Regions from separate parts of the Homo sapiens genome. Here region 1 is linked to region 2. Evidence: promoter capture Hi-C in human tissues and cell types (Jung and others, 2019). All regions are on one chromosome and are shown on one strand. The core of a region is centred on a gene start or on the middle of the fragment in contact, and the rest is flanking DNA. Distances in the headings are between cores, read along the strand shown.

The links. The method cuts DNA at HindIII sites, captures the fragments that hold promoters and counts their contacts. A contact is called where the count stands out against the background at its distance.
Region 1: a contact is called between a fragment that was not itself captured here and the fragment with the promoter of VSX1 in region 2, in 2 of the 25 tissues and cell types used here (aorta and neural progenitor cells).

The regions. Positions count from the first base shown.
Region 1 is chr20:25,160,451-25,166,717 of GRCh38, reverse strand. It overlaps the pseudogene NIPAL1P1. Among named protein-coding and RNA genes, the nearest start is that of ENTPD6, 32 kb to the left of the region's middle. The HindIII fragment of the contact is 4,276 bases long and covers 1,164-5,439 here.
Region 2 is chr20:25,079,358-25,084,818 of GRCh38, reverse strand. It overlaps VSX1 (visual system homeobox 1), which reads left to right and starts at 2,678. Exons shown (of 5, transcript NM_014588.6): 1 at 2,678-3,146; 2 at 5,305-5,383. The coding sequence starts at 2,723. RefSeq lists enhancers at 186-791, 792-1,396, 2,160-2,689. The HindIII fragment of the contact is 6,188 bases long and covers 1-4,975 here.

The DNA of each region.
Region 1 (6,267 bases), core at 2,052-4,551, 81 kb before region 2:
CCCTCCAGATGCCAGCTGGAGCTCTCTTGTATGAGGTGTCTGTCAATCCCTGCTGGGAGGTGTCTCCCAGTCAGGAGGCATGGGGGTCAGGGACCCACTTTAGGAGGCAGTCTGCCCCTTAGCAGAGCTTGAGCACTGTGCTGGGAGATCTGCTGCTCTTTTCAGAGCTGGCAGGCAGGAAGGTTTCTCTGCTGAAGCTGAGCCCATAGCCACCCCTTCTCCCAGGTGCTCTGTCCCAGGGAGATGGAAGTTTTATCTATAAGCCCCTGACTGGGGCTACTGCCTTTCTTTCAGAGATGCCCTGCCCAGAGAGGAGGAATCTAGAGAGGCAGTCTGGCTACAGTGGCTTTGCTGAGCTCTGGTGGGCTCTGCCAAATTCAGTGGCTTTGTTTACTTCCTGGTGGCTTTGTTTACACTGTGAGGGGAAAACCACCTGCTCAGGCCTCAGTAATGGCAGACACCCCTCCCCCTACCAAGCTCGAGCATCCCAGGTGGACTTCAGACTGCTATGCTGGCAGTGAGAATTTCAAGCCAGTGGATCTTAGCTTGCTGGGCTCCATGGGGGTGGGATCCGTGGAGCTAGACCACTTGGCTCCCTGGCTTCAGCCCCTTTCCAGGGTAGTGAACATTTCTGTCTCACTGGCATTCCAGGTGCCACTGGGGTATGAAAAAAAAATCCTGCAGCTAGTTTAGTGTCTGCCCAAACAGCTGCTCAGTTTCGTGCTTGAAACCCAGGGCCCTGGTGGTATAGGCACCGAAGGGAATCTCCTGGTCTGCGCATTGCCAATACTGTGGGAAAAGCATAGTATCTGGGCCAGAATGCACCATTCCTCACATCATAGTCTCTCACAGCTTCCCTTGGCTAGGGGAGGGAGTTCCCTGACCCCTTGCGCTTCCCAGGTGAGGCGATGCCCCATCGTGCTTTGGCTTGCCTTCTGTGGGCTGCGCCCAACTGTCTAACCAGTCCCAATGAGATGAGCTGGGTACCTCAGTTGGAAATGCAGAAATCACCCACTTCCTGCATTGATCTCACTGGGAGCTACAGACTGGAGCTATTCCTATTCAGCCATCTTGACAGCCAGCAAGAAGTAACCAAATTTCTTAGTCAATTTTGGCTTTAATAGTGACTGTCCTAAGATTTTTTTGTCACTCACAGACAATTGTCTTGTTTTGATCCTCTTTAAAATGTGGTTTATAATCAGCTATAGGACTTTGACAGATGTTCCTGTATGCAGGTTTCTGATAACTTTGGAGACTGTGACATTAAAATAGGGGAAAAAAACTTTTAGAACTCTCCTGGAGAGCTGAAATGTTCATGAATATCAAACAGAACAAGAGGTAACTGCATGGACTGATCTAATAGAAAACTGAAGTAATCTTTTTGAAAATTTTTACTTGAAATGCTGAGGATCCTTTGTTTTGTTTTCCAGAGTCAAAGAAACTTTTCTTTTGAGCTATATACAGCTTTTAACAATTGAGAAAGGTATACTCCTGTGAACAAAATTTGGAGCATATTTGTTTCTCTCTACCTGACTTCTCCAGAATTTGAAAACTATTTCTGAGTATTCTTAACTTGTGGCAATATAGTTATTTGCATAAGTGCAATAATAATCTGTTTTCTTTTGTAACAGGATGCAATTGGAGAAACTACTTAATTTACCAAGGCTTTGACTGGAATGGCATGTTTTCCTTTTAAGAATCAAAATTGACTTATAGAGCCAATAAAAGCCCCTTGGAAAATTGGCCTCATACATTGTCTGCATAGTCCCTGTACAGGGTTTCCAACCTGTGGTAAGTAAAGAATGTCACTATTTTTTTTTTTGAGATGGAGTCTCACTCTGTCACCCAGCCTGGAGTGCAGTGGTGCAATATCAGCTCACTGCAACCTCTGCCTCCCAGGTTCAAGCGATTCTGCTCTTTCAGCCTCCCAAGTAGCTGGGACTACAGGTGCACACCACCATGCCCAACTAATTTTTGTATTTTTAGTAGAGATAGGGTTTCACCATATTGGCCAGGCTGGTCTCAAACTCCTGACCTCATGATGTGCCTTCCTTGGCGTCCCAAAGTGCTGGGATTACAGGCATGAGCCACCATGCCTGGCCAAGTATGTCACTTTCTAACAGGCCCAGGAGCCCCAAATTACCTTGTGACCACAAGAGAAAAGGAATTTCCCAACTTATAGGTATTTGAGGGTACAAACTCAAGGCTGCGCTTGGCTTCGTAAAAAGTCTTATCTGAGATTCATTTTATGGAACAATGTTCCATCAAAGCCAATTAAAAAAGCCTATGTGAAAATTATTCTTGCTGCACTTTACAAATAATCTGGCCAAGTATAAGACTAAAGCTTATTTTTGCAAACAAATTCATTCTACCATGATTTGTCTTTAGTAAAAATGTGAGACAGGGGAGAGAAAAATTATGTTTCAAAAACTGTGGTACACTTGTTATCAGATTCTAGTCTTATCAGTTGTTTTTGAACTGTTTTTCACCATACCGATGCTTTCTGACTCAGCTCCTCTCTACCCTGGGTATGAGATGCCCTAATAGTTAGGCAGGAATATCATTGCCCCTATTCAGCCTGAAGAAGTTAAAGAAGATAGATCTTCATCTGCTTACAGCCTTTAGGATTAAAGGTTCCCTTGTAAAAGGGAGGGGGGAAATATGCCAGAGGTGTTTGAACCAGAGCAACTCAATCTTGAATAGGGGTTGGGTAAAATAAGGCTGAGACCCATGGAGCTGCATTCCCAGGAGGTGGGGCATTCTAAGTCACAGGATGAGATAGGGGGTTGGCACAAGATACAGGTTACAAAAACTTTGCTGATAAAAGAGTGCAGTAAAGAAGCTGGCCAAAACCTACCAAAACCAAGAGGGCAATGAAAGTGACCTCTGGCTCATTATACACTAATTATAATGTGTTAGCATGCTAAGAGACATCCCACCAACACCACAACAGTTTATAAATGCCATGACAATGTCAGGAAGTTTCCCTATATGGTCTAAAAACGGGAGGAACCCTCAGTTCTGGTAATTGCCCACCCCTTTCCTCAAAAACTCATGAATAATCCATCCCTTGTTTAGCCTATAATCAGGAAATAACCATAAAAACAGCCAACCAGCAGCCTCAGGGCTGCTCTGCCTATGGAGTAGCCATTCTTATATTCCTTTACTTCCTTAATAGACTTGATTTCACTTAATAAAAAGAAATTATAGTATACACATGCAAAGGAATATTATTTAGTCCTTAAAAAGAAGGAAATCCTGCCATTTGTGACAACATAGATTGACCCAGAGGACATTATGTTAAGCAAAGTAAGCCAGGCACAGAAAGACAAATGCGGCAGGATCTCATTTATGGATGTATCTTAGTCCATTTGTGCTGCTATAACAAAATATCTGGGACTGGGTAACTTATAAGCAACAAAAATTTATTTCTTATGTTTCTGGAGGCTGGGAAGTCCAAGATCAAGACACTAGCATTGGTGTCTGATGAAGGCTGCTCCCTGCTTCCAAGATGGTGTCTTGTTGCTGCTTCCTCCAGAGGGATGCATGTGTCCTCACATGGAGGAAGATAGAAGGGTGAAAGAGCACTCCTTTTGACCTTGAGCCTTTTAATAAGGGTGCTAATCCCATCCATAAAAGTAGAGCCCTCATGACTTAATCACATCCCAAAGACCATACCTCTTAATACTACTGCACTGGGGATGGCTTCAACATAAATTTTGGAGGGGATGCCATCATTCAAACCATAGCAATGTGGACTCTAAAATAATCAAACTCAAAAGCAGAGAGTAGAATGGTGGTTTTCATGGGCTGTGGGGAGGGGGAAATGAGGAGATGATGATCAGAAGGTACGAAGCTTCAGTTATCCAGGATGAATGAGCTCTGGAGATTTGTGTGGCATGATGCCTATAGGTAACAATACTGCATTGTATACCTAAAATTTACTAAGGCAAGTTGATCTTATGGTAAGTGTTATTATCAAAACAGTGATGAAAACAAAATCCAAATACAAATAATAAAGGGGCTGGGTGCAGTGGTTCACAGCTGTAATCCCAGCACTTTGGGAGGCCAAGGTAGGTGGATCACTTGAGGTCAGGAGTTTGAGACCATCCTGGCCAACATGGTGAAACCGTGTCTCTACTAAAAATACAAAAATTAGCTGGGCATAGTGGCCTGTGCCTGTGATCCCAGCTGCTCAGGAGGCTGCTGTGGGAGGATCACTTGAGCCTGGGAGGCAGAGGTTGCAGTGAGCCATGATCGTGCCACTGCACTCCAGCGTGTGTGACAGAGCAAGACTGTCTCAATAATAATAATAATAATAATAATAATAATAATAATAATAATAAAGGGGTGGGAGAAAACTTTGGGAGGTGATGGATGTGTTTATGGCCTTGATGGTGGTGATGATTTCACAGGTACATACGTATCCCCAAACTTATCGAAATGTATACATTAAATATATACAGCTTTTTGTATGTTCATTTTACCTCAATAGAGTGGTTTTCTTTAAAAAAAGAATTAACAACAATCTGGCAGGTCCATGGGGAGGAGAGGCCCAGGTGGCTGAGGAAAGAGCGTCTGCATCCTGGAGCCCCGTCTGGGGACATGGGGGCACATGTGAGGCTGTGGCACAGAGAGCCCTGCCGAGAAGGATATGGCTCCAGCTTCATATTGAAAAAGAAGGGTCTTTTGCAACTGGCCAACAAAAGCATCACTGGAGCTGGACAAGGTGGACATTCTGACCTGAAGGATGGCTCTGGGGGACAGGAGTGCTGGCCATGGGAGCAGGAGAGGCTGCACATTTTGCTGCTTATGCTTTTGCACCTGCCATCTTGGTCACCCTCACCCCCCCGGCCCTCTGAGTGTTCTCATAAGTGCAATATTATCTTCCTATTTTTTAAACGAGCACTTGAACATTTATGGGAAAACAGGCTGCATATTGGGGTCAACTGTGATGGTTATCCATGCCCCAGAAGAAGAGGAAGTCACTTCTTTGCATGAAATGGAAATGAAATTGAGAGACCCAGGATTTATTTCCTTTGCTGTGATCATAATTGTGATCTTGGTGCTGATTTTGATTGTGGCTCCCAAGAAAGGACAGACCAATATATTGGTCTATATTTCAATCTGTTCTTTGGCTGCAGCATTTTCAATTTCTCCTGCCAAAGGCCTGGGTATTGCCATTAAGGAATTACTAGAATGGAAGCCAGTTTAGAAGCATCCCCTGGTCATTGTTTTGCTGGCTATACTTGTGTTTTTGGTGACTACACAGATTAACTATCTCAAGGCACCAGACACCGTGAATACATCTCCTGTGACTCCCATTTATTTTGCGTTCTTCACATCCATGGTAGTGACTTGCTCTGCCATCTTACTCCAAGAGTGGTATGGCATGAAAACTGGAGATATCATCGAGACCCTGAATGGATTCTTCACTATTATCCTTGGCATCTTTCTTCTACATGCTTTTAAAAATACTGACATTACCTGGAGTAAGCTGACATCCACTGCTAAGAAAGAAGTCATCTCTCTGAATGGCAATGAGAGCAGTCCTGTTTTACTAGAGAACTTGGAGTGTTCAGCCCTGGATACAATGATAACGTTACCTTGTTTAGCAGAACTGATGATTGAAGTCTCTAGAAACACTGAATTTTAACCAGTATGAGACAGTCAAAGAGGAAAATGAATGCTTGCTTCTTGGAACTAGGAAAGTTAGCATTTTTGAAGTTCTAACTAATTTAGATGTGAGGCCAAGTACGAATGCCATCTTTTTGGCCATTAAATTTGAAAATCAGATTGATTCTCCTCCAGAAGACGTCTGCTGCTTTTCATTTCTGCAAATTTTGAAGTATTCCCTAGGGATCAAAGAAGTCAAAGAGCTATGTGTGTCTCAGAATAGTCTCTTTCTTCTGGCCACAATATATTTGTCTCTGCCAGGTGGCTCTTCATTTTTTCCTTGGTGGCTATGACTTACATTCATCAATAGAAAGTTAGCAGTGTTCTGATAAGCAGAGTATCAGTCATTTTCTCTGATGAGTCATAATTTCAAATTATTGAAACTGAGAAGTGAGATCACCGGTGCTTTGTCCTCCCTTCTGCAACTTCTTTCTTCCTAAACTGGTTAGCTAATTAATTATCTTAAGGGAAAAACAAGCCTGCTGTGGAAATTTATTCCTTAATGGGCTAGAATACACAAGACATACCCACCCGTGAAGAGCTTATGAATTGTAACTTACTGACATATCGTAAGAATTTACTACCCATTAA
Region 2 (5,461 bases), core at 1,429-3,928:
GCTGCGCCTCTGGCAATAGATTTGCAGGTGGTATCCGGTAGGGGGAAGCTGGAAGGAGCCCATTCTTTTGGCCGCCAGGACGCGGAGGCTTCCCCTAAACGCGGCCCGTAGGTTTGGCAACTGCGAGGGCACCCCGGGGACACGAGGATTGTGGGTGGATCGTGGGCTAGCTTTTTATCTCTTGCAGACGTCTCCTAAACGGCAAGAAGCGCTTCCCTGGTCTTGGCTGACGCTGAGTGAAGCGCCCGTATAACTTGACGCTGGGCTCTGGGTGGATCCCCACCACATAGGGCGCGCAAGTGGATACCAGAGCCCCGGCAACAGCGGGGACACAGATGAGCGCAGCGTCGGGTGGGGGGCGTTTCTCACTGTAGGAGGCTATGAAAATGTCCTCCCGCGCTGGGCTCCTGCCACCGCCACGCTGCGAAACACAAGGTGACCCAGGACACAACTCGCCCACCGCTGGGGTCCTGCAGGCCCCTCCCTGGCATTGGGGTCCCGGGATGCATTAGGAACGCCCCAGTCCAGGAATTGCAAGACCCCTTAGAAGTTCGTTCCTTCTGCATCTCTGAGTCCCCTTAGAGCTCCAATACGGGCTCCTTGATTGAGTCTCCTGCTCTGTGTCGCCCTCGCCACGTCTCTGTGTCCGATGTGACTGGGTTAATAAGTCCCAGTTGCTCTCACCTGCAAAATGAGTTTAAGACGATCCTTCCCGAGGCGCCGCGGTCACTATAGAGAGTGTCTGAGGCTGGGCTCCTACCGCCTGGCCTTTTGGTGTCTTTGGATCACTGGCTATCTACTCGGGGTCTGTCACTCCCGTGATCGCCTACCTTCCAGGGAGACCTAGGGGAGGGAGACCCCAAGACCTGTCCCAGGTGAGGCCACTTGGTCGGCACCCGGGGCTGCAGGCACGGCGCCCGCGTCCGCCCTCGCCCCTTAGGCTTTCCATTCGCGGGCGACCCCGGTCGGGCCACCTTAGAATCGACTACCCTGCCTGCCTGACTGGTCTCGGGCTACAAACTGTGTGGAAGCGTAGGTATCTCACTTAACTGCTACCCCAAATTCGGATTTACAAACGACTACGCAGTCCCGAATGCCCAACGCCTTCCCTAAACCCAGAGATAAATCTGGGGGAAAATTCCTCGCGGAGCGGAAAACAACGCCAGCGTCTAAAGCGTTCTGCCCCGAGCTGGAGTGGTTCAAAAGACAATGATCTCAAAAGAAAGTGATTGTTTTGGTAATCCCGGGAACAGCTTGCAAGGGGGAGATTTGGGTCTTCCTTTAGTAACGGAAAGTCAATGCGCAGCCTCCTGTAATTATCCTTATCGGAAGCCCCTTGTTTAATCTGCATGTTTAGCGGAGGCCCCACTCGAACGCGCAGCGAGTGGGAGACCCACTTTGCAGGGCCCAGGCTCGGGCTCCGGTCCCTGCGTGCGCGCAGGCAGCCGCGCCGGGTTCCCGCGGAGCTCAGGCGTTTGCTCCTCCCTCGCTGCGGGACCTCGGACTGTAGGACCCTCAGGGAGTGGGACTGAGGAGATCTGCTTCCGGGGTTCTGGGATTGGGAAGCGGGGGACGCAGGGCTCCGAGCGATGAGGGCTGGTTGGGTTCAAAGCGCGAACCAGTAGTTACTTACCCACGTGCTTGGGGCCAACTTTAGCGAATATCAGAGTTTCACTGATTATTCAAAGAATCAGGCTTTCTTTGAATAATCGTGAAATTGGACAATAAATTGTAAGCCCCGATGAAAAGGTGTGCTTTCCAGTAGACAGACTCTATTTTATTTCAATTTACCTCCCTCCACTCCTCCCCAATTTAGGGTTGCTGGATAAAATACTGATACATACTCCTACAAAAAAAAAAAGCCCTCCTTTTTTATCTGAAATCACATTTCACTGAGCCGACAGTGTTTTGTTGGTTAAACCTGGTACCCTGCCCGTCTCAGCCCCGGGCAGTCCACTCCTCTCTCTGCTTCTCTCCCTTTCCCCAGCTCTTGTGAGTCTGCCACCCCCTACAGTTCAGCCCGTGGAGTGTTGGGGATGGACCTGGGGGTGGATTTGGATGGAGGTAGAATGACCATGGATTAAAGGGATGGAGGTAGGATGACCATGGATTAAATACACGGTTTTCATTCCTTTCCCCTTGGGGATTTTCAGAGAAGGCCTTCTTACAGGAAGGCCTTCGTGGCACCGGCGGCGGAGGTGGAGGGCTGGCTGGGGACATATATGGGGTAGCCATCGGGGTGTGGTTGGGAATGGGGTCCTAGGTCTTAATAGGCAGTTGGGTCGCATCAAAGAAGCTTCAGGGCAGCTGGGAGTGGGGCCTCCACCCAGAGAGTCTGGAAGGAAGGAGAAGGCCACGCCAGGATGTAGAACTTGCGACTTTTCGAGGGACAGGCAGACAGCGGAGTCACTGTCCCTTACCTTCTTTCCTCCCCTCCCTCCTAGAATGGGGGTGGGGTGGGGTGGGGTGGGCTGGACAGAAGAGAGGAGGAGAAGGAGGTGACTGAGGGGACTGCAGCTGGGTGGGCGGTAACCGAGGGGAGGGGAACTGGTGGCGTCCCCATCTCGCGGGGTCCGGAACGGCGACGCGCCCGCGCCCAGCTGATTGGAGCCCTTCAGGCCTCCCGCGCCCGACCGGCAGCCCAATCCTATAAAGCTTCCTCTAAGCTGGGCCCTCCGCAAACGGGATCCAGAGAGGCTCGCGCCTTGCTTGCTAAGGAACCATGACCGGCCGGGACTCGCTTTCCGACGGGCGCACTAGCAGCAGGGCGCTGGTGCCTGGCGGTTCCCCTAGGGGCTCGCGCCCCCGGGGCTTCGCCATCACGGACCTGCTGGGCTTGGAGGCCGAGCTGCCGGCGCCCGCTGGCCCAGGACAGGGATCTGGCTGCGAGGGTCCGGCAGTCGCGCCGTGCCCGGGCCCGGGGCTTGACGGCTCCAGCCTGGCGCGTGGGGCCCTACCGCTGGGACTCGGCCTCCTCTGTGGCTTCGGCACGCAGCCGCCGGCGGCCGCTCGAGCACCCTGCCTGCTCCTAGCGGACGTGCCGTTCCTGCCGCCCAGGGGCCCCGAGCCCGCTGCCCCGCTGGCTCCCAGCCGTCCGCCGCCTGCGCTCGGCCGCCAGAAGCGCAGCGACAGCGTCTCCACGTCCGGTAATCAGGCCCGCGCTTTCCGCTCCTGCCCCTGTCCCCTAGGCTCTGAGCCGCGCAGGGGTCACAGACCATCGCCCCACCGCACCCCTGGCCCCAGCGGCCCAGATCTAGGCGGGGAGCCCAGAGCGAGGCCCCGTCGCGGGAGGGGCATTCGCGGAGCTGCGCCGCCTGCCCCTTGCTGCATCCTAAATCCCTGCCTCTCATCCGGGGTCCTGTTCCCTCAGCGATGTGAGACCGCCACCACCTGGTTCCGGGTGGAACCTTTTGATGAGACCCTGGGGTCTTCAACAACCATCTCCAGAGGGCCATTTTTCCCCCCAGCGCCAGGCGCCAGTCTCCGCCTCTGGCAGCTGCGTGGGTCGGGAAGGCCCGGGCCTGTGGTGGTCACCAGCAGCACCGAACAAGGTACCAGGTGGAAACGCGGGCGGAAATGATCGAATGATTGACGGGTCCTGGAAGAGTACGGGGCCTCGAGCCCTGGAACTGTCCGCCCCTTGGGGTGCTGAAAAGGGAGTCCCGGGTACCGCGCTCCTCTGCCGGCGCAGCGTCCTCCCAGTCCCCTGTGCAGGAGAAAGAAGCAACCTTGGGGATTCATTGTAGTTACGCCTAGAGATGTGTTCCTGGCCTACCCATTTCCCCAAAGAAATCCAGACGGGTCGCGGGGAAAGAGAAGGAAGCAATGAAATTCTATAAAGGACAAGGGCTAAGGAAACGAGTGGTTTTGGGTGTGGGAGAGAAAAGAAAGAATTACACAAGAAAGGATGGTATGTGGTAGAATCTAGAGCTGAGCATCCAGGCAGCCAAGGCAAAAAGAGTAGACTGGGTCTTCTGATACTAAAAGGAAGCATGTCAGATCAATAGGCAGGCAGGTTTTTGCTCCACTCTAAAAGGACTTTATTTCATGAGCTCTACGTAAGATAAAATGAAACTCCCTATTAGTGTCACTAAAAATGCAAAACTGTTTTCATGGGATGGGTTCTTTCTTACAAAACCAAAGGCAGCTAAATCCAACTCTGCCAGCATTTCTGAAAGTCTGGAGCAGAGCTGTCCAAGAAAAATGAAATGTGATTTCATGTTTGACGGAAATTTCTCACAGTCACATTAAAAGTGAAATGAATCTAAATACTATATTTTAACCCAACAATGATAGCAAATATTATCATTTTACACATAATCAATACAAAAATATTTTACTTTTTAGGAGCACTAAGTCTTCTAACTCCATTAAGTGATTTATGTTTACAGCATGTCTTGATCTTACTGGCCACATTTCATGTGCTTAATAACCTTATGTGTCTCATGTCTCATCAGGTTGGACAGCCCAATACAGAATGTTTTAATCCAAGCCAGGTTTCTGGTGAACTAATTGATGGATGAGTAAAACTAGTATTATTTAGTTATTTTTGCCTTTATTCATTTTAAAGATATTTTGAGGCAATTATGCCTTCTAGCAATGAATCTCACAATAGTTTGGCCTTCTAACCTTCTTTTCCATCTAGACTTTTTGATGTATTGGATATAAAAAGGTAAAGCACAGTGGAGTGGTTCTCAAATTTTCAAGGGCAACTACACATCATCTGAGCACACTTGTCAAGAATGAGCCTCCTAGATCCCACCTCCAGAGATTCTGATTTGGTGCATCAGGGAAGGGTTGCAGTTCTGACGAGGGTTCTGATGTCACAAGCCCCAGACTTCCTTTGGGAAATGTTGGTGTAGAGGTTAAGATGATGAGGCTGGGGGCATAGGGGTGGATGTGTTTGGAAGCAGTGTGGGGATAGAAAGTGCAATCAGTGGCTGAGTAGTTTTGGCTTCAGATAATCTGGGATTTGAATTCTCAACTTCACCATTTACTACCTGTGTGATTTTGGGCAAATTACTTAACCATTCGGTGCCTCAGTTTCCTCATCTGTAAAAATAGGATGATAATAATAGCAGCAGCCATTTTGGTGTTTTATTATTATATTAAGAATACTTGAGATAATGTATGGACAGTGTTAAGCACAGAGCCTGGGATCTAGTAGGCACTAAAAATGCTGGCTCATACTGTAAACTACTTAAGTACCCAAGAGGTTCATAACTTCAATCCTCACATTAAAATCCAGGAAATAGAGGGGATATGATCACCCTTAAAGTCCTCTTCTTCTTTCTGTGCCATCAGATGAGGACAGCCAGTCTGAAGACAGGAATGACCTAAAGGCATCCCCCACCTTGGGCAAGAGGAAGAAGCGGCGGCACAGGTATAGGGCCAGGCAGTCCCCTCTGCCTGCCTTTCCTCGGGACACAGCCCAAGGTTTATGGCACCTGCATCTGAGAAT